Linked DNA regions of Homo sapiens: regions 2, 3 and 4 are each linked to region 1. The links are contacts of gene promoters, found by promoter capture Hi-C in human tissues and cell types (Jung and others, 2019). All regions are on one chromosome and are shown on one strand. Each heading gives the region's core, a stretch centred on a gene start or on the middle of the fragment in contact. The rest is flanking DNA. Distances are from core to core; before and after follow the strand shown. Region 1 holds the start of CST9 (cystatin 9). Region 2 has its middle 25 kb from the start of CST9L. Region 3 holds the start of LOC124904965 (a long non-coding RNA gene). Region 4 holds the start of CST9L (cystatin 9 like).

The links. Contacts are between HindIII fragments. The study calls those that stand out against the background at their distance.
Region 2: a fragment that was not itself captured here is called in contact with the fragment with the promoter of CST9 in region 1 in 2 of the 25 tissues and cell types used here (H1 embryonic stem cells and dorsolateral prefrontal cortex).
Region 3: a fragment that was not itself captured here is called in contact with the fragment with the promoter of CST9 in region 1 in 2 of the 25 tissues and cell types used here (hippocampus and ovary).
Region 4: the fragment with the promoter of CST9L here is called in contact with the fragment with the promoter of CST9 in region 1 in 1 of the 25 tissues and cell types used here (adrenal gland).

What each region holds. Positions count from the first base shown.
Region 1 is chr20:23,603,302-23,608,521 of GRCh38, reverse strand. CST9 (cystatin 9) reads left to right here and starts at 2,605. Exons shown (of 2, transcript NM_001008693.3): 1 at 2,605-2,912; 2 at 4,788-5,220. The coding sequence starts at 2,658. The coding sequence ends at 5,012. The HindIII fragment of the contact is 5,555 bases long and covers 1-5,106 here.
Region 2 is chr20:23,541,190-23,546,409 of GRCh38, reverse strand. It overlaps the pseudogene CST13P. Among named protein-coding and RNA genes, the nearest start is that of CST9L, 25 kb to the left of the region's middle. The HindIII fragment of the contact is 4,942 bases long and covers 696-5,220 here.
Region 3 is chr20:23,651,435-23,656,654 of GRCh38, reverse strand. LOC124904965 (a long non-coding RNA gene) reads left to right here and starts at 111. Exons shown (of 2, transcript XR_007067748.1): 1 at 111-330; 2 at 1,061-1,429. The HindIII fragment of the contact is 6,534 bases long and covers 1-5,204 here.
Region 4 is chr20:23,565,223-23,570,442 of GRCh38, reverse strand. It overlaps CST9L (cystatin 9 like), which reads left to right and starts at 1,959. Exons shown (of 3, transcript NM_080610.3): 1 at 1,959-2,232; 2 at 4,356-4,469. The coding sequence starts at 1,993. The HindIII fragment of the contact is 10,231 bases long and covers 1-5,220 here.

The DNA.
Region 1 (5,220 bases), core at 1,356-3,855:
GGGACATGAGTCCGACCCCGGGGAGAGCACTCAGCTGGAGGGTCTGCGGGAGCTGGGGAGAGCGTCCTGTGTCCCGAAGAGTCACTGGGCTTCCCCTCGTCCACCGCCTCATGTTCAGCTTCACAGAAAAGGGCCAGTGGCTTGGTCCTGGTCGTTGCCAGCATTCTCTAATCATTCAAAGGAATGCGTTCAGAAATACAGGGCCTCGTTTCTGGAAAAGCAGGTCCATTTCAGTGAGGAGTTACTGGGACCTTCCTATGAGACCACATGGGTGTTCGGTGCCAGTGCCAGCAACACAAAGAGAGCACCAGACAAGTCCCGGTGGCCCCAGAGACAGACAGGCCAACGAGTGCCCAGGAAGAAGCTGAGTGAGACAGAACTCTTGCAAGGGGACTCAGGAGAGAAAGCCTCCCAGACCTGAGACCTGGGGATAGCCCTGCAGAGAGCTGTGAGCTGTGCCTGTGGGCTGGCCAGCCAGCCCCTCCGGGCCGTCCGGTTTCACTCTGGCCTCGGCAACATGTTGACCCACGTCTTCGGGGCTCCTCAGCCTGGAGCCCACATGTATTTCTCTTTACCTGGCTATGTCTTGATATTCCCGTCTCTCTCCACCTGGGAAGTGAGGCCATCCCAGGCCACTGGGGATTCAACAAGAAAATAGACACACTTGTAAGGGTCCATGGTGTCTGTACACCCGTGGTCTCACATCTGGGTGTGGGGATCCCTGTCCCCTCCTTGGCTGCACAGTGAGGACAGAGCTGGTGCCCAGGACCCTAAACCACTGCTCATGTAAGAGTGAGTGTGGGCACTCCCTTGGAGCACATGTGGGTATCGGCCCTCAGAATGGTGGGGGAGCCACTGGCAATTGGCAGGATGCCCCAAGTTTGTCAGCCGCTGAACTTACAAGGTGAGAGTGACCTCCATGGGCATTGCAGGCCTCTCTCAGGACACTCGCAACCTATTCCAGGCATCAGGATTCTAGTTCTCACAGCACCTTATGGCCTGCTCATCCCAAAACCCACAAAGGCATTTCCGCCCTCACTGACACCCCCTTCCTACCCCTACGTGCACCATCACTCTCCAGCTAAGAAACCACATTAGTTACGCTTCAGCTGCAGTTCCAGTGAACTCAACGCCATCAGAGAAAGGATACAGACTCCTTGGGTGATGTTTTTGGCACATCTGGCTGCTTTCCTGGAATTGTCACATTGAGTTGCTTTTTCTTTGCAAACAGGGTCTAGAAACAAACTCTTATTCTTTATCACCAGGCATGCTGTCTAAGCCTGTCCCCCATCCTGTGTGCCCCACAAAAGCCATTCTCATCCCCTGACCTCCATGCCCCTCAAGCTGAGTTACTTCTCATATGTGGTTTGGTCTGTATGCACTTCCCAGGAAGTATTCTGAACCTGCACCACTCAAAGTATGGTTCTGAGACCGGGAACACAACCATCCTCTGGAAGCTGGTGAGAAATGTAGTTTCCCTGGCCCTGCTCACAGCTACTGGGTCAGAATCTTTGGGTGGGGAAACTAGGAACTTGCTTTTTAACGTGACATCAGGGGATGCTGGTTGCTTCTGAAGTTTACAAGGAGCTACGGATAAACATCAAAGGCATATTTCACAGGGACAAAGCTTAAGTCTGGTCTGTGAAGAGTGCATTATTCAGTCTTTTGAGAGCCCCATTTGCGGTTGGAGTTGGAGGCTATGTGGGTCTTGGTCGAGAACTCAGAATCTCCACCCACAAACTGTGCCGCAGAGTGCTGTGCCGGCTGTGGCCACAGGAGGGAACCCGTGACAACCTAATGGGTGCACTTCAGCCATCCCTGAGGGCATCTTCGTCTTTCTGGTTCTCCACTGCTCCAATTGCAAGCGGCCACCCGTCCTGGAAACACCTTTGAGGAATAGGGGCAGCCATAACTAGCCAGGCCCCTAGTACCAGCACTTGGCAGCGCGTCCCTGGGCTGGGAAGCTGCATTTAGGGAGGTGCAGAGAACAGGGTTGGGGGCTCCTGCTCTTGATTTCCTCAACCTCTGCCCACGACCCCCAGGCTGGTGCCCCCCTCCCGAGACCCTCGGGGGAGCAGACACCTGCAGGACATCCCGCCAATCCTCCCGGGCTCCCCGCCTCTCTCTCAAGAGGCCCAGTGCTTTCTCGGGGCGCTGTACCTGCTCACCCATGATACTAGCATCCACTGTCATCCCTTTCCATCCTTTTGTCTCTGCCTTTCCACCTAACCTCCCCCTCCCAGCCCACCCCCACTGCTGAGTCCAGGGCTCACCTTCCACTCATACCTCTCACACTTGTGTTCCTGTGCCGGGCTCTGACTCTGGGGCGCCCAGTAGAGGTCTCCTTTAGCCTGCGGAGGTGCTGGGGCAGCTGGGGCTGGGCCTCATGTTCAGGGCACTATCTCTCCCATTGCTAGTCTTTTCCAACCCACCTGCCTGGGTGCTGTTCCTCTCCCCTAAACAGGAGATGATTTAAACGCCTTTGGAAGAAGGGAGGCCATGTGTGGGAGAGACAGGGTGTAACTGCAGAGGTGAGGCCTGGAGGGAGGAGTTTCTGCCCCAGCAGGTGAATTTAAAGGCCAGACCTGAGCCCTGGAAGGCTCCAGTGGACGCCAGGGATCTGAAGGGCAAAGGCAAGGGCTGCTGGAGCCTGCATCATGTCGAGTCCGCAGAGGAGGAAGGCTATGCCCTGGGCACTGTCACTGCTTCTCATGGGCTTCCAGCTCCTGGTGACTTATGCCTGGTGTTCTGAAGAGGAAATGGGTGGTAATAATAAAATAGTCCAGGATCCTATGTTCCTCGCCACAGTGGAGTTTGCCTTGAACACTTTCAACGTGCAGAGCAAGGAGGAGCATGCCTACAGGCTGTTGCGCGTCCTGAGTTCATGGAGGGAGGATAGCATGGACAGAAAGGTTGGTGACCACATCCTCTTCTGGCCTGTCCTTCTCCATCTGCCCCTAAGTGAGGGACCAAGATGTCTAGTCTAGGAGACTTGGTTCACCATCAGCAGTCCATAGTCAGGTAGTCCACAACCAATTACGGTAGTTTTAGTTTTGGAAAACATTGAACTTAAAATTTTTTTTAAATTAGGTAAATGTCTATTCACATGCAAAATATATTTTTCAATCTTCATGATTTTTAAGACATTGTATAACTGAAGAGTGACTTCAAAATAAGGACTTCTAAGGAGATGAAGCTGACAAGAAGAGAAAATAACCAAAGAGACTGATAAACATTTCCAGGTCATAAAATGAAAATGGAAAAGCAAGGACACACAGAGGGAGAGAGAGAGAGAGACAGAGAGAGACAGACAGACAGAGAGAGAGAGACAGAGAGAGAGAGAGACAGGCAGACAGAGAGAGAACAGTGAGAATTCGAGGGCAATAAAGAACACCATCAGCCCTGAGAGGCCACCGTGAAAGGTTAGTTCTCTGATCTCCACCTTCTCTGGGCTCCTTGCTCTGTCTGCACTTAATGAACTGAAGGCCAATTTACACTCTTCCTCAATGGACCTTTATCCTAAAATGCTTGCCTTTTTGATGAAATCATTAAATGTGGTCAGGAATGCACAGTTCATCTGGGCTTCAGGCATGAACAATTAAAATGCCCTCCTAGTGGAGAACTTCTGGTTTAGAGAGAGAAGGAGCATTGCTCTTCCTTTCTCAGCACCAAGAGCCTGAAAGAAAGGCAGAGGGACTCTAGTACCGCACAGAGCTTAAGCTCTGGAAAGACTCTGTGCAAGGCTCTGGCTGGTTCTCTGCCTCCTGGGGTGGATTCCTCACTGCCATCCTCAGGATTCCAATGCTGGTACAGAGGAATTTTCCTCCTTGCTCATTTGCTGCCTCCTCTCAGGAGAATTAAAAGCCTGATGCAACCCTCAGAGGGGCATCTGGTCCAGTAATGGTGGCTGCTAATATTCATGCTGGAACCTTGGAAGTCTCAGAGATTGAGATTGGCCAGGCCTCATGCTTCTGCTTTCCCAGTGCTTTGCTTGATTCTCCAAGACCTCAGTGTAAGCCTCCATTCTTAATACCGTTAGAATAAAATCTAAGCTCCTTACTATGGTCTATAAGTCCTAAATGACAGTAAGTCCTAAAAGCTTTCCACATGGCTTCCTGGATATGGCAATCCCAGCATCAGTTTGGGGGCTGGGAAGAATAGATGGGTGAGAGGGAGGCTATGGAGTGGAATTAAATAGAATGGAGTGGGAAGGAGGGCAAGGAGAACTTCAGCATGCACTTTGCAATAGGGCAGATGGTATTTCTTGAACCCATTTTCCCAGGGTGTGTGCCTGTGTGTAGTGGGAGCGCTGTGTGTCATTCTTCTTGCTGGAGGTCACTTGGAAGGTTTGACAACACACTGTAGATGAGGCTCCCTCTGTCCCAGGGCTGAAGTTACCCTGAAAACTCTTGGAGATCCAACACCCTCCCGGACATGTGGCTCTGTCCTCTGGGAATGCAGCTGCAAGATCAGATGCCTACTGAGAGTGAAGCTGGAGTCTCACCGTGGGAAATGGGGGTGGGTGGAGGTGGATAATGTGTTAGTGGGGTCTGACTCAGCCTGCATCCTCCCCAGACCCACCATGCCCACCTGCTTTTTGCTCTTAACTCCTCAGTCTAGAGAAGATCCCCTGGGTTTCACCTCCAGTGAGCTGATGCCAGGCCCATGGGCAAGCTCTCAAATGCAGTAAAGTGTTGGGGCCTCTCCTACTCAAATGGCATCTTCACTAGTAGCTACTTAGGGGCAGGAAGACGGTGCATCCACTTTAATCTTCTTTTGTCCAACAGTGGCGAGGTAAGATGGTGTTCTCCATGAATCTGCAACTGCGCCAAACCGTATGTAGGAAATTTGAAGATGACATTGACAACTGCCCTTTTCAAGAAAGCCTGGAGCTGAACAACGTAAGACAGGGCATCAGCTTTCCTCAGGTCCACAGCTGTGGATGCTGCATGGGGTGTGGTGTGGGCACAGGAGCAGCTGACAAAGCCATTCCGAGGGACAAAGGGAAGTGAGCCCACAGCAGGCTGTACCAGGCTGCCCTGCTTGTGCCTTAGTGGGAAGCCCAGTGAGGCATTAAGCCCAGGGGTTCACTTTCAGGCCCCTGGCCAATCTGAGTTTCCTGATTCTGCCCTCTGACACCATTGCAGCTGCCTGCACCTGGGCCACATGGCCTTCAGAACCTTCTCTCTGGTCTTCCTCCCCACTTCTTCCCTGCCTTCT
Region 2 (5,220 bases), core at 1,917-4,416, 63 kb after region 1:
CACCCTTGGTCCTTCTCTTGACCCTGACTCCATCAGCAGAAGGAAGCTCAGAGAAGGCGCTTTATCCACAGTGCCTCCTGCGGATCCAAAGAATCCACCCTACTCATTCCATTTGAGAACCATTTCTGAGACAGCTCCCAGGACAGGGTCTCATGGGGAGTGAGCTCACTGAGGTGATGGGGTGTCCTGGCTCAGGACCCTTTTGGAGCACAGCCGTCCTTCATGGAGCAAGGGGAGAGGAGCCCACTCTAAGGCACTGGCTCCTGGGAGGATGCACTAATTCCTGCCTGACTCAGACTACATGTATGGGTCTTTAACAGTTTTCTGCATCCCTAAGAAATGGACATCCACAATTTCTGGGACATGTGTTGATTTCTATTGTATTTCCAGACTCATGATGCATGACATGACCCAGGTGCACAGGCCTAATTAGAGGACAGGAGTCGCATTGCAGGCCCTGTTCCTTTGGAAAGACCTCTCCTAGCTTGCCTTGCCTGTCTGCACTTGCTCCTGGAGACAGCTATACTTCTCCTCCTTCGGGAATTTGTGCAGTGAAGAATCAGGAAACTGGGTTCATAGATGTTGAGTGTAGCCATGAGGTGGGCCCCTGAGCAAATTTTGTGCCAGAGGCTAAGGCCAGAGACATGCTGGGAACATCTGGTCAGTAGCATCCCTGGACCCCAACCCCAGGAAGGAAAAGGGGCACAGATTGTAGTGTAGTGTCACTAGCTTCCTCCTTCCCCAGAAATGTGAGTTCTTATTTAACCCTGCACCCCTCAGCTCCTAATCTGTCATCTGCTGTCCCTGAGTCATTTATATAAAGATGGCAACCTCTGCTTGGCTGTCCTCAAATGGTTACAGCTGAAGTCAAAAGTGGCAGTAGAAGAAAACACTAAGTATAAATTAGTTCCAAAATATGCTACATATACACTACTTTATTCTACCTTGTGGCCACTTTCCCATCTGCTGGAGGACATGTGGATACTTTCCTCATTTTTCTCAGGGGGTCAGGGCTGGGACACAGCCTTGGGGAGATTGACCATAATAATGAACACAAAGTGATGAGGAAAATGTGAGGTTTTTGCAGACTCCCCAAACCTCTCTCCTTGAGGCAGAGGAAGGGAAGATGGGGTGGAGCCTGGGGAGGGCAGGGAACTGCCGGGATACATACACAAGGAAACATCTCAGCTGTCAGTCCTGGCCCTGTATGTGGTCTCAGGACAACTCCCACTCACTCCAAATCTCCACTTCAGGTCCCAAGACCCAGAGTCCCTCATGTCCACATACCTCCTGTGAGTTGGAGTTCTGGTTCTTCCCTGGCCCCTGCTGAGCCCAGGAAAGGAACTGTCCTCTTCTGTTTGTGCTGCTATAACAGAATAACACAGGCTGGTTAATTTACAGGAAACAGAAATTTATTTTTCACAGCTCTAGAGGTTGGGAAGCCCAGGACCAAGGTGCCAGCATCTTGTGAGGGCCTCCCTGCTGTGTCCTCACGTGGTAGAAGGTGGAAGGGCAAGCTACACTGCATGAAGCCTCTTTGATATATGTCTGTGTCCTTCCTGGTGTGGCCAAGGCTAACACGGCCTTGGTAGAGAAGGAGACAATTTAGAGGTGTCTCAGGAGCCTCTATGTCCACACATTCCATTTCCTTTCATGCTCATATAAAAATATTGCTGTTAGTCAATAAACTCAAAAATTCCATGAGTCAGTGAAACTGTCTTGATCTTAATTCTTCATCCTGACTCTGACTCAGTGGGTCAACAGAGGCCAGATGGTTTTGAAGAGCTAAACCTGAACCCATGCACAGATCACATTAACAAAACTGACCTTAGATGTGGGCAGTAGGGTTTGGTATGCCCTAAGACAACATGGGGTATGAGTATGATGGAAACAAGCAGCCCGGGACATGTGAAGACCCAGGTCCCTCCAATGTTCAATCACACTGTCAGGGCTCAGCAAAGAACACCTTCCTCCATGGGCTGCTCATGAGACCACATAGGGCTGGCCAGCTCAGGCCAAGAAGCAAGGGAGACCAAGTCCCCCAGATGGACAGGTTGCATACCCACGGAGCTTGGGGATGAAGGCGAGGGTAGATGAGAGAGATGTGTCCTCAGGTGCTGCAGCTAGTAGCATAGGGATCCCATTCCTGAGGCAGGGAGAGAATGGAACAAGAACTGCTCTGACAGTGTCCCCACAACCCTGCCAGCACATGGGAAAGAAAGGGGCCCAGGGTTGTGCGGGGCCATGAAGAACGCCACTTCACCTGCCCGCCACCCAAGAGCTCAACTGCTGGCAGATGTTAGAGAGTGCAGGTTGAGGACTGACCTCTTACCTTTTTTTCTTTATTTCTGAAATTCCTGTTTAAGGACCTGAGGAATCATGCCTTGCAAACCATAAAATTTCATCAAAAAGGTCCTTTCTGACCCAGTACATTGTGACTTGTTTTCCAACCTGACTCTGGCATGGCATCACCTGACAGATAGTAGAGCCCCTTAGCATTCCTTTCTACTGACTCCATGTTTTAGACAAAGCTTAACTTTTTCTACCAATTTCAAACTAAAGAATCCCTAAACCCACCTAAAACTTGTAAGCCAATGCCTTGAGATGTCCCACCTTTTGGGACCAAACCAATATATACCTTCCATGTATTGATTTATAATTTTACCTGCAACTCCTGGCTCCATGACATGCTTCAAACTAACCTGTAACCGGACCACCTCAGCCACACTTTCTCAGGACCTCTTGAGACTGTGTTTCCCTTTCTTGGTCACTCATATGGCTCAGAATAAACCTCTTTAAATATTTTGGCAGAATTTGGTTTTTCCGTTGTCAAGGTAAAGGGTATCCTGATTTCTGATCTCAGCCAGGCAAGCCCCTGGGGGTCTCAGGGTGCCATTTACAGTAGATCTGGGTTCCACTATCAAGTTGGCTCCTCCAGAAGCTGACTTGGAGACAAAAAATTCAAGTACAAGTGGCTTATTTAGAAATGATTCCAGAAAGGCAGTTGAAAAGTGGAAATAGTAAGGGGCAGAAGCAGCACGGATAGTGAGATTAGCAATATGGATAGCTAGGGCTCAGTCTTGCAGGACACTCCTCAGTGACTGGGTAGACACAACTTGGCGTTATATCCCAGGGGATAAAAGGCCAGGATGTTTATCCTCCAAATTCTATCATTGGCTGAGGGCTCCTCTCAAGGGTATTACCCACTGGCACTCCAGCCTGCCCTTCATTGGCAGAGAAAGCCATTAGGCAGAGAGGCTCAGAAGGTTGCAGTCAGCCCTGTCGGAGAAGAGCCCTCAAGGACAGCTGTCATGCAGGTGGCCTCTGAGCATCACCATCCTTCCGTCATGTGTCTAAGTTAGAATCTGACCCTGTATTACTACTGGTTATTACACAATATTGTCTCCTTGCCCCAGCCTGCACATTGGTGCTGCTGTCTAAGCATCAGGATTTCAAAAGTGCCTCTTTACGGTCATGGTATCACCTTAGTCCACTCTCCATACACATGCATGCGCACACATGCACACATGTGTACACACTGTAGTGGCTGGCCTCCCAGATGGCCTCCAGTGACCCTAATCTCTATCTTTATGTCGTTGTGTAGTCCACACTGAGCCAGGGCTGTTCTGGGTTGAGTCTAGTTTACAAAGGATACAGTGGCTTCCATCTTGGTCTCTGGGAACACTGTGTCTGGAACAAGTCATCCAGGATACCAAGCTGACGTACAGTCTTGTGGAGAAGCCACGTGGAGAACAGAGACCTCAGTCAATAACCATTATCAACCTGCAGGCATGGGAGTGAGCTACCTTGGAAAGGATTCTCCAGAGTCCATCAAACCTTTAAATAATGGCAGCACAGTCAATATCAGAGTGTAACCCAATGAGATGTGACAACCAGAGCTGCCCAGTCTGGCCATCCAGAGATGCCTGACTCACAGACACCATGAGACATATAAATCAATTGCTTGAGCCATTAAGTGACCAGGTGACTTGTCATACAGCATTAACTGATACATCTAACTGTGAGCACACACTTATGCACAGACATGCACACGTGTGCATACACACAAACACACACACACACACGAATGTAGTCTTCTCTCCCTGCATCATTAACTTTTCTGCTTCAATTCAAAACCAATGAAAATCTCTAAATGGCCCAGCTGTCTCTCTGGTTGGATCTGGTTAAAACTAACTTTCTAAGCTAACAGGCTGTGTCTTCCAAAAAGTCCTGGGAAGGGAGATTTCCGTAGAAATCCATGGACGGAAACTCTCAAGGCAGCCAGACTCTCAGAGCCTTACAGAGAGTGCCAGCATGCTTGAAGCAATTGAGGGCTGGGTCCTCTGGTTATCTAGAAAGATTTGTCCATGAAAAGTAATTTGTACTCAGAGTTGGGTGAGGTGTAGAAACCACTTCCATTTATTGCAGCAGATTATCCCAGCTAGTAGGGGAAGTATCCAGCAAGAATAGGCTATGCAATGCTGTCAAAACACATCATGGATTTTCAACATCAGCCCATGAAGAACACACAAAAATGCAAAAAGGCCAAACAAATGAAGTTAATGGGTTAACTGTGTTGTTCTAGTTCTTGCAAGTGTCTTTGCTTCTTCTTTAAAATGGAAATGAGTGTGGCAGAACACACTAGAAGATAACTACATATCTTTGCATTGTTTCTTCAGCATGGTGAGTTCAAATTTCCATGGTTTAGATGCAACAATAAAAGTACAAAAAACCACCTGAAAGAGACAAAAAGAATAGTCAGTTTCTATTTTAAAAAGAAGGAAACAAAAGCAGAAGTTCCTATTTCCAGGCAGGAGTTAGATTCAGCAGGGCTAATCTGTCTGAGTCAGCCACGCCTCATCAGAAAACAGAGGATCCAGCCCCCTCACCAGAGGAGTCCTCATCAGTTCACCTCTTGTGATCTGAGCCATCATGGGTGTGGCTTTATTCACTCCAGGAGAGCAAGGATCAGAGCCCAAGGACAGGTTATTATTGGAAAATCCCCATCTCCAGCCCTGACTCTCATCCAGCCACATGGACTCCCTGTAGCCTACAGAGACCCCATGCTGCACAGACAGTCCTACCCAGGGAATGCAACATTGCAAGAATATTACCAGGTCCTGCACCCCTTGGGGAAATAAAAATGTGCCAGCAACCAAGGAGGAAAGCTTGCAGCTGTAGGGCTGGAAGGAAACAAGTAGCTCTCATACCAGAGTCCTG
Region 3 (5,220 bases), core at 688-3,187, 49 kb before region 1:
TCTCCCAACGGGAAGCACTCCAGACCTCAGGGGCTGAGGGAAGAGCTGACTCAGCACCAGCAGTGCCGCTGCTCAGCCTGGTGCCTGCCCTCCACAGCCCTGACCTCAGAGCGGTCCCCAGACCAGCAACATCAGCATCCCTGGGAGCATCAGAAATGCAGAGCTCAGGCCCGCCCCGGAGCTACCGAATCAGAACCTCCATTTTACACACCCCTCAGCTCAGAGCTTGTTTCTCCCTGGATTCCATGGCCCTGTGCTGCTGGCAGCCCGGGGTTAGGGCATTTCGTTGTCACCTGGCGACGGTGAAGCCTGGTTTCCTCCAGAGAGATTGTGAGTACATGGGACTCCACATAGCGTTTTTCCCTGAGTTACATAATTTCCCCTCCCCTTCTGTGGGATTTATCTCCAAAGAAGCCCTCCAGGGCCAAGTGGCCAAAGGGAGGGGAAGTGCCTGCCCTTGCTTGGGGAGCTCCCAGCCCCTCCCGGGGAGGCCTTTCTGCCGAACTCCGAACTCCGAGTTGTAGGACCTCTCTCCTGCTGGTGCCCTCCTCCGCCCAGACTGCCCAGCCGCTGGTGAGCACAGGGCAGGGCCTGCCCACCCTCGGCCGGTCCTTCGCGTGCTCCAGGCTTGGCAGGGGGAAGTGAAAGAGGGAAGGAAAAGAACTGAACTTCCTCCCGAGGGGTGGGAGAGGTCTGGCCCTTTTCCAGTCTCTCAGTGAGGAAGTGAAAAGAAGGCAACACCGGCCCTCTCAATGCAGCCCAGGAAGCGAGGGGGCTGAGGGAACCCCTCCAGTCCTCAGGGGGAGCCCTGCCTGACGGGCTGGCATCCCTGCAGCCCCAGCAGCCAAGTCCGGATCACCTATGTGGGGGTGCGGGGGTGGGTGTCAGGCTGGGCACCAAATGGGCGTGCGTGGGGTTCGAAGCAGAGGAGAAACAAAAGCCTATGTCAATGCCGTTTTACAAAAGTGTTGTGTATTTAGCCAATTCCGGGCTGAGTCCTGGACCAAGCCCCATGTTCCGGTTTCTGCAGCACAGCAAGGCCTTTTCTAACATATTCCAGATGCTGCTCTCCATCCAAGTGAAGTGGCAATGGTGCCAGCCTGAGATTTCTGCCCTGAGTTTTAAGTACGAGAGTGTGGGCTGACAATAAACTCCTTTATTCTACCCTCTTCTGTTCTCATAAGGAGAAATTTAAATTCTGGAAGAGATGAAGCTTGCATTTACCCAGGCCTGTTAATGAAGAATGTTGGACTAAATTTTGAGAATTCAGACTGCTTAAGAAATTTGCTTCAGAATCCCCAAAGGATTCTGCAAGGAGCTAGAAAGAACATTTTCTAACATCAGTTACTTGTTTTAATAAACTCCTTCGGGGTAAGATTTTGATTCCCACCACTGATCATATCATTAAAAAGTGTATTCTCTGCACTAACTTCTTCTTCTCCTTGAAGTATCACCACCAAAACCCTGAGCATGTTTTGTCATTGATTTAGCTCTTCTGATCTTAGGACTTGAGTTTAATGTCACTGAGAAGCAAGTGTAAGCTGAGGGTTACATAAACGATTGCCAGAATATCTGGATGCTTACAAATAAAGATAGGCCAGGTTATTTTCCTGTTATTTGTACCGCAGTTGGCAAAGCAAACACGAGGGCCTCCCTCATTCCTCAGGCTCTGGCTTGATGCATGTGGGGTTCCTGGTTTTGCAGGGGTCCCTCCCTTCCCAGTTCCCCTATCTGCCTCCTCCTGGGTCTTCTAGACCCCTGTTTCTGCACTTGGCACACTTCCCACTTCTGCAGAAAAGGAACAGACTTGGTTTGCATCCCCTTTCTGCCTAACTGTGAAGGATGTGCTTGTCTTCAGTTTTCTGTTTTAATATTTATAAGACCGGGGAAATGTCACCTGGGGTTGTTTGAAGGTTAAATGAGGCAGCACATATAAGAGGACCGGGTGCAGGTAAATAGCAAGTTAGCTTAAAAACCTTTGTTTTTCTGCCCCACCCTCCATTCCTGCCTCTACCTCTTTATTCCCAGCCTTGCCCAATCCAAGTCCTCCCCACTCCCTTGCCCTCCATCAGGACCTCTTTTCACTAGTTCTCACAGTCTCGGGGTGATGTGGAATTAAATTTCCTGAACACTATGGTGGCTATGTTAGAAAGAAACCTACATAATAATAGGATGACCTTTCTGCCACAGCTCTCCTGGCCCCATATCTCCACACAGCCCTTGGACTCTTGCCTGGCCAGCGGGATTTGGGTCAGCACAACCAGAGGGTGGGAATGGAGACTTCTGACTTGCAAATTATGAGTAACATTTGCTGAGAGTTTGGCTTCTCAACACAGCCAGGTAGCCAACTGAGACCATGATTGGATGCATGTTGGAATTTGCTGCAGTGCTGGTCTCTATTACCCACCTGCCCTGGGGCTTAGAGAAGCCTCGCCTTCTGTAATGTGCATGTGATACACGTCTGAACTTGTGAGCCATGCCTTCTGGGATTTTCACAGGATTTGCAGCTAAGACTCAGCACATGGTGTTTTTCTTGTGAAAATGAAAACATTTGGTAAGATGTGGGTGTGTGTATTCTTAATATCTTAGTGCAATTGTTCTGTTTTAGAGACTTGGATCCAGGCAGTGCCTCATAGCCCCAGCTTAACAGCTGCTCCAAGGAGCACCTGAATTTACCTGCTACCTGTGCTTCTTGCTTTTCAGCTCAAGCAGGGCTTGGTGGGATCCCAAAGAAAACCTCCAGGTCTGCCCTGGTAGGGAATTAAAATAAATGCACAGCAGAATTTTCCCCCATCCTTGACTGCTAAATCTTTGATGTGACTTTTAGACTGAGGAGAGATTAGTCCCTTGTCTCATGGAGCTTGTGCTTTGACCTTTTAATCCATGGCCCTTGACAACTTCCTGTCTGACTCTAGAATCACCTGTGCAGGTTGAAAGCGATGAATGCCTGGGCCTCCCCGCAAGGAGTTAAAGCAGAAACCCTGGGGGAGGTGCCTGGCATAGCTCCCCACAGGAGTCTGCTCTGTGACTGGGGTGAGACCCTCTAGGGCATGGTCAGCCATGGGCAGTCTCCATGTGGCCTCCCTTGATCTGACACTGGAGGGGAGGAAGGAGAGGGTCCCGGGGCCACAGAGTGGAGGAAGGGTGGCCACCACTGCAGAATAAGAGAGCACAGATGGCAGAGAATGGGTGAGGGCCAAAGGGAAAGTAGAGGGAGGAGAGGCCCACAGTGCCTAAGAAGATCAAATCCTGAAGTGAGGAGTTCGAGACCAGCCTGGCCAACATGGTGAAACCCTGTCTCTAAAATACAAAAATTAGTCGGGTGTGGTGGCAAGCACCTGTTGTCCCAGCTACTTAGGAGGCTGAGGTAGGAGAATCACTTGAACCTGGAAGGTTGCAGTGAGTTGAGATCACCCCATGGCACTCCAGTCTGGGCAGCACAGTGAGACTCCATCTCAAAAAAGATCAAGTTCTCCCTCACCATAGTGCTGGAGGAGCAGCAGCCCTTGGAGTTCAGCTCAGCAGCATGGTCACCATAGGGAGGCAGGGCCTGGGCCTGGGTCGTGTGTGGGGGCCTTGGACTGGCCCAGAGTCAGCTACTGGCTCGCCCCTTCAGGGGCTCCTTCCTGACTCCCCTCCAGGGCTGAGATGCCCAGGCACAAGCTGCCACCAGCCCTCTGAAGGACACAGATCTCAGGCTTCTGACTTTGAACTGTTGCCTGGACCCACTTCCAGCCACCAGCCAGCACAGTTAAAGCCTGTAGACTTTGACAGCTAAAACGGAAGGCTGCCATTTTCCATAAGACCTTCAGGTCTTAAAAAGAGGTGTCCTAACAAAACATGCCCAGAATACCTTATATCTTGCTCAGGAAAAAGGAAGTGCACAAAATATTTTGTAGACAGGGATATACCACCACCTCCCTTGAAGCCCAGTGTTTTGGGACTCTGTGTTAGGAAGGAAGAGCCTTCCCTAACAGCCTGCTGCAGGCTGAATCAAAGAACACATTTAAAAGCCTGGAAGCAACCACAGAACAATAACATACTTGAATGGAGTCATCAGTAGACACTAAAACCACTGGGGGGAGTGACTGGTGCACAGGGTATTTTATAATGTCTCCAAGCATCTCCCCATAGGTCACTTATTAACAATAAGTATGGAGAAACTTATGGAGAAACCTGCAGACACTGCCTTAAATAATAATCAACATCAAGTCACCAGTAACAGGACAAACTCACATCCTGGGCCTCCTGATGTGATGCACTGAGGAGGACACAGCCTCACCCAGGCAAAGCTTCTGTCAAAAGAGTTGGCCTCAAGTCTAATCATCAAGAAACAAAAAGACTCAAATTTATAAGGTTATAAATTATGTAAAATATTATTATAAAAACAACTGTTCTGTATTCCTCAAAAATTGTCAATGACATGGAGGACAAAAACAGGACAACTGTTGTTCCCATGCACGTTCATTAAAGCAACATGATACAAAATGCAAAGTGAGATCCTGGATTTGATCCAGGAGCAGATGGGAAAATGTTGGAATGGATATCTTGGGGATAACTGGATAAATTTTTAAAAGAACTACTATTAGATAATTGTGTATTGGTGTTAAATCTCCTAAATCTGATAATTACGTGACAACAAGTACCAAAAAGCCTTTTCTTCAGAAGAACTTCTTTCTTTTTTATTCTTTTTTTTTTGGGGGGGGGGCGGGGTGGAGTTTCGCTCTTTGTTGCCCAGGCTGGAGTGCAATGGCTCGATCTCGGCTCACTGCAAACTCTGCCTCCTGGGTTCAAGCGATTATCCTGCCTCAGCCTCCTGAGTAGCTGGGATTACAGGTGCCTGCCACTACACCTGGCTAATTTTTTGTATTTTTAGTAGAAATGGGGTTTCACCTTGTTGGCCAGGCTGGTCTTGAACCCCTGACCTCAGGTGATCCATCCACCTTGGCCTCCCAATGTACTGGGATTACAGGCGTGAGCCACTGCACCAAGCTAGAACTTCTTTCTTAGGCAGAAGTATTTAGGGGTAAAAAGCCATAATATCTACAACTTACCCTCTAATACGTATATGTGTGTGTGTGTATATATATGTATATATATATATGTAAAAATATTTATAATATATGTATGTATATATAAAATAGAGAGAAGCAAATGCTAAAGTTGGCATATGGATGTGTATCACTCAGGGTTCAACCTCTCTCTTACGAGGTCTGTAAG
Region 4 (5,220 bases), core at 710-3,209, 37 kb after region 1:
TAGATCTCACAAATAATTTTGCAAATAGTTGTGTGGTTGAGCTGTTTGTTTGCCAAGGTTAAATAAATATGAGAAGAATGGGTCAGCTGGGTGTGATCCAGAAGACCAGTGACATTTCGACAGTGCAATGGGGGCTGGACACAGTAGCTCATGCCTGTAATCCCAGCACATTAGGAGGCTGAGGTGGGAGGACCACTTGAGGCCAGGAAAGTTCGAGACCAGCTTGGCCTACATGGCAAAACCCCATCTCTACTAAAAACACAAAGAATTAGCCGGGCATGGTGCAACACGCCTGTAATCTCAGCTACTCAGGAGGCTGAGGCAGGAGAATCTCTTGAACCTGGGAGGCGGAGGTTGCAGCAGTGAGCCAAGATCACACCACCGCACTCAAGCCTGGGCAACAGAGATTCCGTCAAAAAAAAAAAAAAAAACAACCCATGAAACAACGCAATGGGCCAGATTTCACCTGTTATCATTGCTAATCAGGACACAGGTTTCAGCTACTCTGTGTCACCCACTTCCTGGAGTCAAGGCAGAAGATCAAGATGCACATGGCTCCTGGGCAGCAGCTCCCCACACACTAGCTACTTTCTTCTGTCTGTGATGGGTGAAGTCTCCTGTGAGGAGACACTCGGGACCACCCCAGTGTTGGGTCAGGCAGCATGACTCTCTTCACCTGCAGCTGTCTTGACCTGGCCAGTGCTGTGCTAGTGTGGACAGATGCAGTGATGCTCTTCCCAGGCCTGGCCCTGCTGTGATCTGGGAACATGGTATGGGACACAGTCAGAACAGTTCTTGTAGAATCAGTCTCCCTGACTTGGGACTGAACTTTCTATTCTGTTATCTGGCAACAATGCTAGGTTCTTGCCTATATTGCAGCACCATAGTCTTCTCAGCCAAACTCAAAGCTCTCACTTTTGCATACTTCACCTGTCCTGCACTATTTAATGTTCATTCTTACAGCAACAAAATATTATTATTTCCTCTTTCAGGTTAGTTATTGCCAGGAAATTGATTTAAAAGTAACCACCTAGTATCACCTAAGTGCTGGCAAAATAGCTCACTCTAGAACACCAAGAAGGATGGTCAGATGGAGACAAAAATGATCAAGGGGCTGAAGAATGGTCCAACCTCTATCTCACTGAGGCAGAAACATGTGATCTCCCAGAGAAGTGTTTAAAAATTTGGTCTAGAATGATATTCCAGTCTAATAAAACATGAGTGTGTGTGGTGGGGCTGCAGATGTAGGGCGGTGGGCCCTGTAGAAACCTTGGCTCTGGCTCAGCTGGAACCAGGGCTGACAAGGTTTAGAAATGCAAGCAGGGCTGGGCTGGGCATGACCAGGCTGGGGCCTCAGGACTTGGGTCTCTGTCTTTCCTGCCCTTTTCTCACAATACTCATTGTCCATCCCAGGTCAAAATGGTTGATAAAAATTGCCATTTATTTTTTTCATTTTTTCCCTTGGTTCACAGAGTACAACTGTTGAGGTATTATACAACAAAAGAACAAACTGATATCTTAGTTATTTTTCTGAACAACGGAGATCCTCTCTTCGACGGGGTGAAGGAGGGGAGAGTGAGAGTCGAGATGTCCCCAGGTCTTATCTCAGTTCGCTGTGGGAGGCGAAGGCACAGAATCATCCAAGGACACCAAGCACCTGAGGACAACCAGAACCTGTGGGTTCTGAAGGAGCAGCCTTCAAAGCTAGTGGCAGAGGGTAGCTCCCCTCCTGCCTGTGGCTTGTGCTGGCCTAGAGAGTATAGGGCAGAAGGATGGCAGATGAGTGACTCCACATCCAGAGCTGCCTCCCTTTAATCCAGGATCCTGTCCTTCCTGTCCTGTAGGAGTGCCTGTTGCCAGTGTGGGGTGAGACAAGTTTGTCCCACAGGGCTGTCTGAGCAGATAAGATTAAGGGCTGGGTCTGTGCTCAATTAACTCCTGTGGGCACGGGGGCTGGGAAGAGCAAAGTCAGCGGTGCCTACAGTCAGCACCATGCTGGGCCTGCCGTGGAAGGGAGGTCTGTCCTGGGCGCTGCTGCTGCTTCTCTTAGGCTCCCAGATCCTGCTGATCTATGCCTGGCATTTCCACGAGCAAAGGGACTGTGATGAACACAATGTCATGGCTCGTTACCTCCCTGCCACAGTGGAGTTTGCTGTCCACACATTCAACCAACAGAGCAAGGACTACTATGCCTACAGACTGGGGCACATCTTGAATTCCTGGAAGGAGCAGGTTGGTGACCACGTACCCTCCTGCCCTGGCATCTGGCATGTGCTGCTCAGTGAAAAATGGGAGTGGGGTGGGGACAGGGGGTCTTATTGAAGAGTCTTGTTCACCAGTTGTAGTCCATACTTAAGAAAATACAAGGTAGTTTAGTTAGTTTTTGATTTTGAAAACATCTAAGTTAGAAATTTCAAATAATTTGATCCTAATCAACTCTCATGAAAAACATATTGTTTAATCTCCATCTTTTTATGACATTATTTAACTGAAGAATGACTTCAAAATGAGGACTACCAAGAAAATGAAGATACGGAATAAGGAAAAGGGCTGAACAGAAAATGTGAATAGAGAGAAATTGAGAAATACTTCCAAAAAATGTAATAAAAAAGAGATAATTTAAAAAATGAAAATTAAAAAAGAGAACAGTAAGGGTTCAGGAGCAATAAGAAACCCCCACCAGTCCCAAAAGACCTCTGGGTGGTCAGTTCCTCTTTGCTGATTTCCAACTTCTCTGAGCTCCTTGGTGTGTCTGCACTTAATAAACTGAAGACTGTTTCACACTCTTCCTCAGACCACAGGTCTTAATCCTAAATGTTCTCCTTTTAATGAAGTCACTACAGAATGCAATCAGGAATGCACAGTTCATCTGTGCTGTAGGCATGAACAATGAAAATAGTCACCAAGTTGAGGACTTTTTTTTTTTTTTTTTTTTGAGATGGAATCTTGCTCTGTCACCCAGGCTAGAGTACAGTGGCGTCATCTCCGCTCACTGCAAGATCCGCCTCCCAGGTTCAAGTGATTCTCCTGCCTCAGCCTCCCAAATAACTGGGATTACAGGCACCCGCCAGATGCCTGGTTAATTTTTTGTATTTTTAGTAGAGACAGGGTTTCACTATGTTGGCCAGGCTGGTCTTGAACTCCTGACCTCATGATCTGCCCACCTCGGCCTCCCAAAGTGCTGGGATTACAGGCATGAGCCACTGCACCCAGCTAAGTTGAGGACTTCTAGTTGGGTAGAGAGGCAAAAATGCTCTTCCTACCTCATTACTGAAACCTTGCAAGAAGAGCAAAAGGACCCCAACCCTGCACCAAGCTTCAGCCTCTGGAAAGACCCTGTGCAAGGCCCTGGCTGGTTCTCTGACCCCTGCTCTCTGGGCTGGAGCCTGCCACGTGGGTTCCTGGATGTGACAATTCCAGAGTCAGTTTTGGAGTTGGGGAAATGGACGGATAGGGAGAAAGGAGATGGAATGAAGTGAAACTGAAAGGAGTGAGAAGATCAAGGTGCACTTTGCAATAGGGCAGATGGTGTTTCTTTCTTTCTTTCTTTCTTTTGATATGGAGTCTCACCCTGTCAACCAGGCTGGAGTGCAATGGCACAATCTCAGCTCCCTGCAACCTCTGCCTCCCGGGTTCAAACAATTCTCCTGCCTCAGCCTCCCTCCCGAGTAGCTGGGATTACAAGCACCTGCCACCATGCCCAGCTAACTTTTGTATTTTTAGTAGAGATGGGTTTTCACCATGTTGGCCAGGCTGGTCTCGAACTCCCGACCTCATTATTCACCCACCCCAGCCTCCAAAAGTGCTGGGATTACAGGTGTGAGCCACCACACCCGGCCCCAGATGGTGTTTCTTGAAGCCATTGTCCCAAGGATGTATGCCTGTGTGTAGTGGGAGTGCTGGGTGGCATTCTTGCATTTTTTTTTTCCTCAGGTCAGGTGGAAGGTTTGACAACATGCCCTAGATGAGGCTCCCTCTGTCCCAGGGCTGAGGTTACCCTGAAAGCTCTTGGAGAGCCAAACCCCTCCCCAGGCACATAGCGCCATCCTCTGGAAATGCAGCTGCAGGTTCAGACACTGACTGAGAGTGAAACTGGGGTCTCACCATGGGAGAGTGGGAAGTGCATCTGGAAATAGGGATACATTCATGGGTGTCTGCCCTGGGGCCACCATGCCCATCCGCTTTTTGTTCTTAACTGCCCAATCTAAAGAAGATCTCCTGATGCCAGGCCCATGGGCAAGCTCCCTAATGGAGGAGAATGTTGGGACTTCTCCTACACAAATGACATCTTCACCAGCAGCTACTTAGGGGCAACAAGGAGGGTGTGTTCACATTAATCTCTCTGTGTGCAATAGGTGGAGTCCAAGACTGTATTCTCAATGGAGCTACTGCTGGGGAGAACTAGGTGTGGGAAATTTGAAGACGACATTGACAACTGCCATTTCCAAGAAAGCACAGAGCTGAACAATGTAAGACAGGACACCAGCTTCCCTCCTGGATACAGCTGTGGATGCCACATGGGGTGTGGTGTGGGCACAGGTGCAACTGACAAAGAGACTTAGAGGAGTGAGCCTGCAGCAGCCTCTACCAGGCTGCCCTGCTTGTGCCTTAGTGGGGAGCGCAGAGGGGCAGGCAGCTAGGGGTCCACTTGCAGGCTCCTGGCCAATCTGAGTTTATCAACTCTGCCCTGTCATGCCACTGCAGCTGCCTGCACCCAGGGCACATGGCCTTCAGACTGCTCTTTCCCCCTGGGGTCCCAGTCTCCTGGGTCCAGTAAGAAGTGGTCCCCTCTCTGGTCTTCCTCCCCTGCCTTCTGGAAGAACCTGGGATCTGACATCACCTCTGTCTGTGGATGCAGTTCTCAGGGTTTCCTTACCCTCCCCTAGACCCAAAAGTGGTAGAGGCTGAGAAGGAGCCCCACTACCCTCCCTCCCAGGCCCTGAGCTGAGCTGCAGCACCTGCTCTAGGGGACAAGCTCCAAGTAAAGCCTGGCTCTGGGAAAACTCTTCCTATGCTTAATCAACACCCTTATTGTAATATTAAAAAATAGGTAGCTGATTGCTTAAATCTGGGAACTGCTTCCACTGGGACAATGCATTCTCCTGCTGCTCTTGGGTGCAGGGATCACACCAGGACAGCCCGGGGTTCCCCTGAGGGCCACTGCTAGGGAGTGGGGAACATTGCACAGGCGCCCCTGGGTCAGAAAAGAGTTGCAGTTCA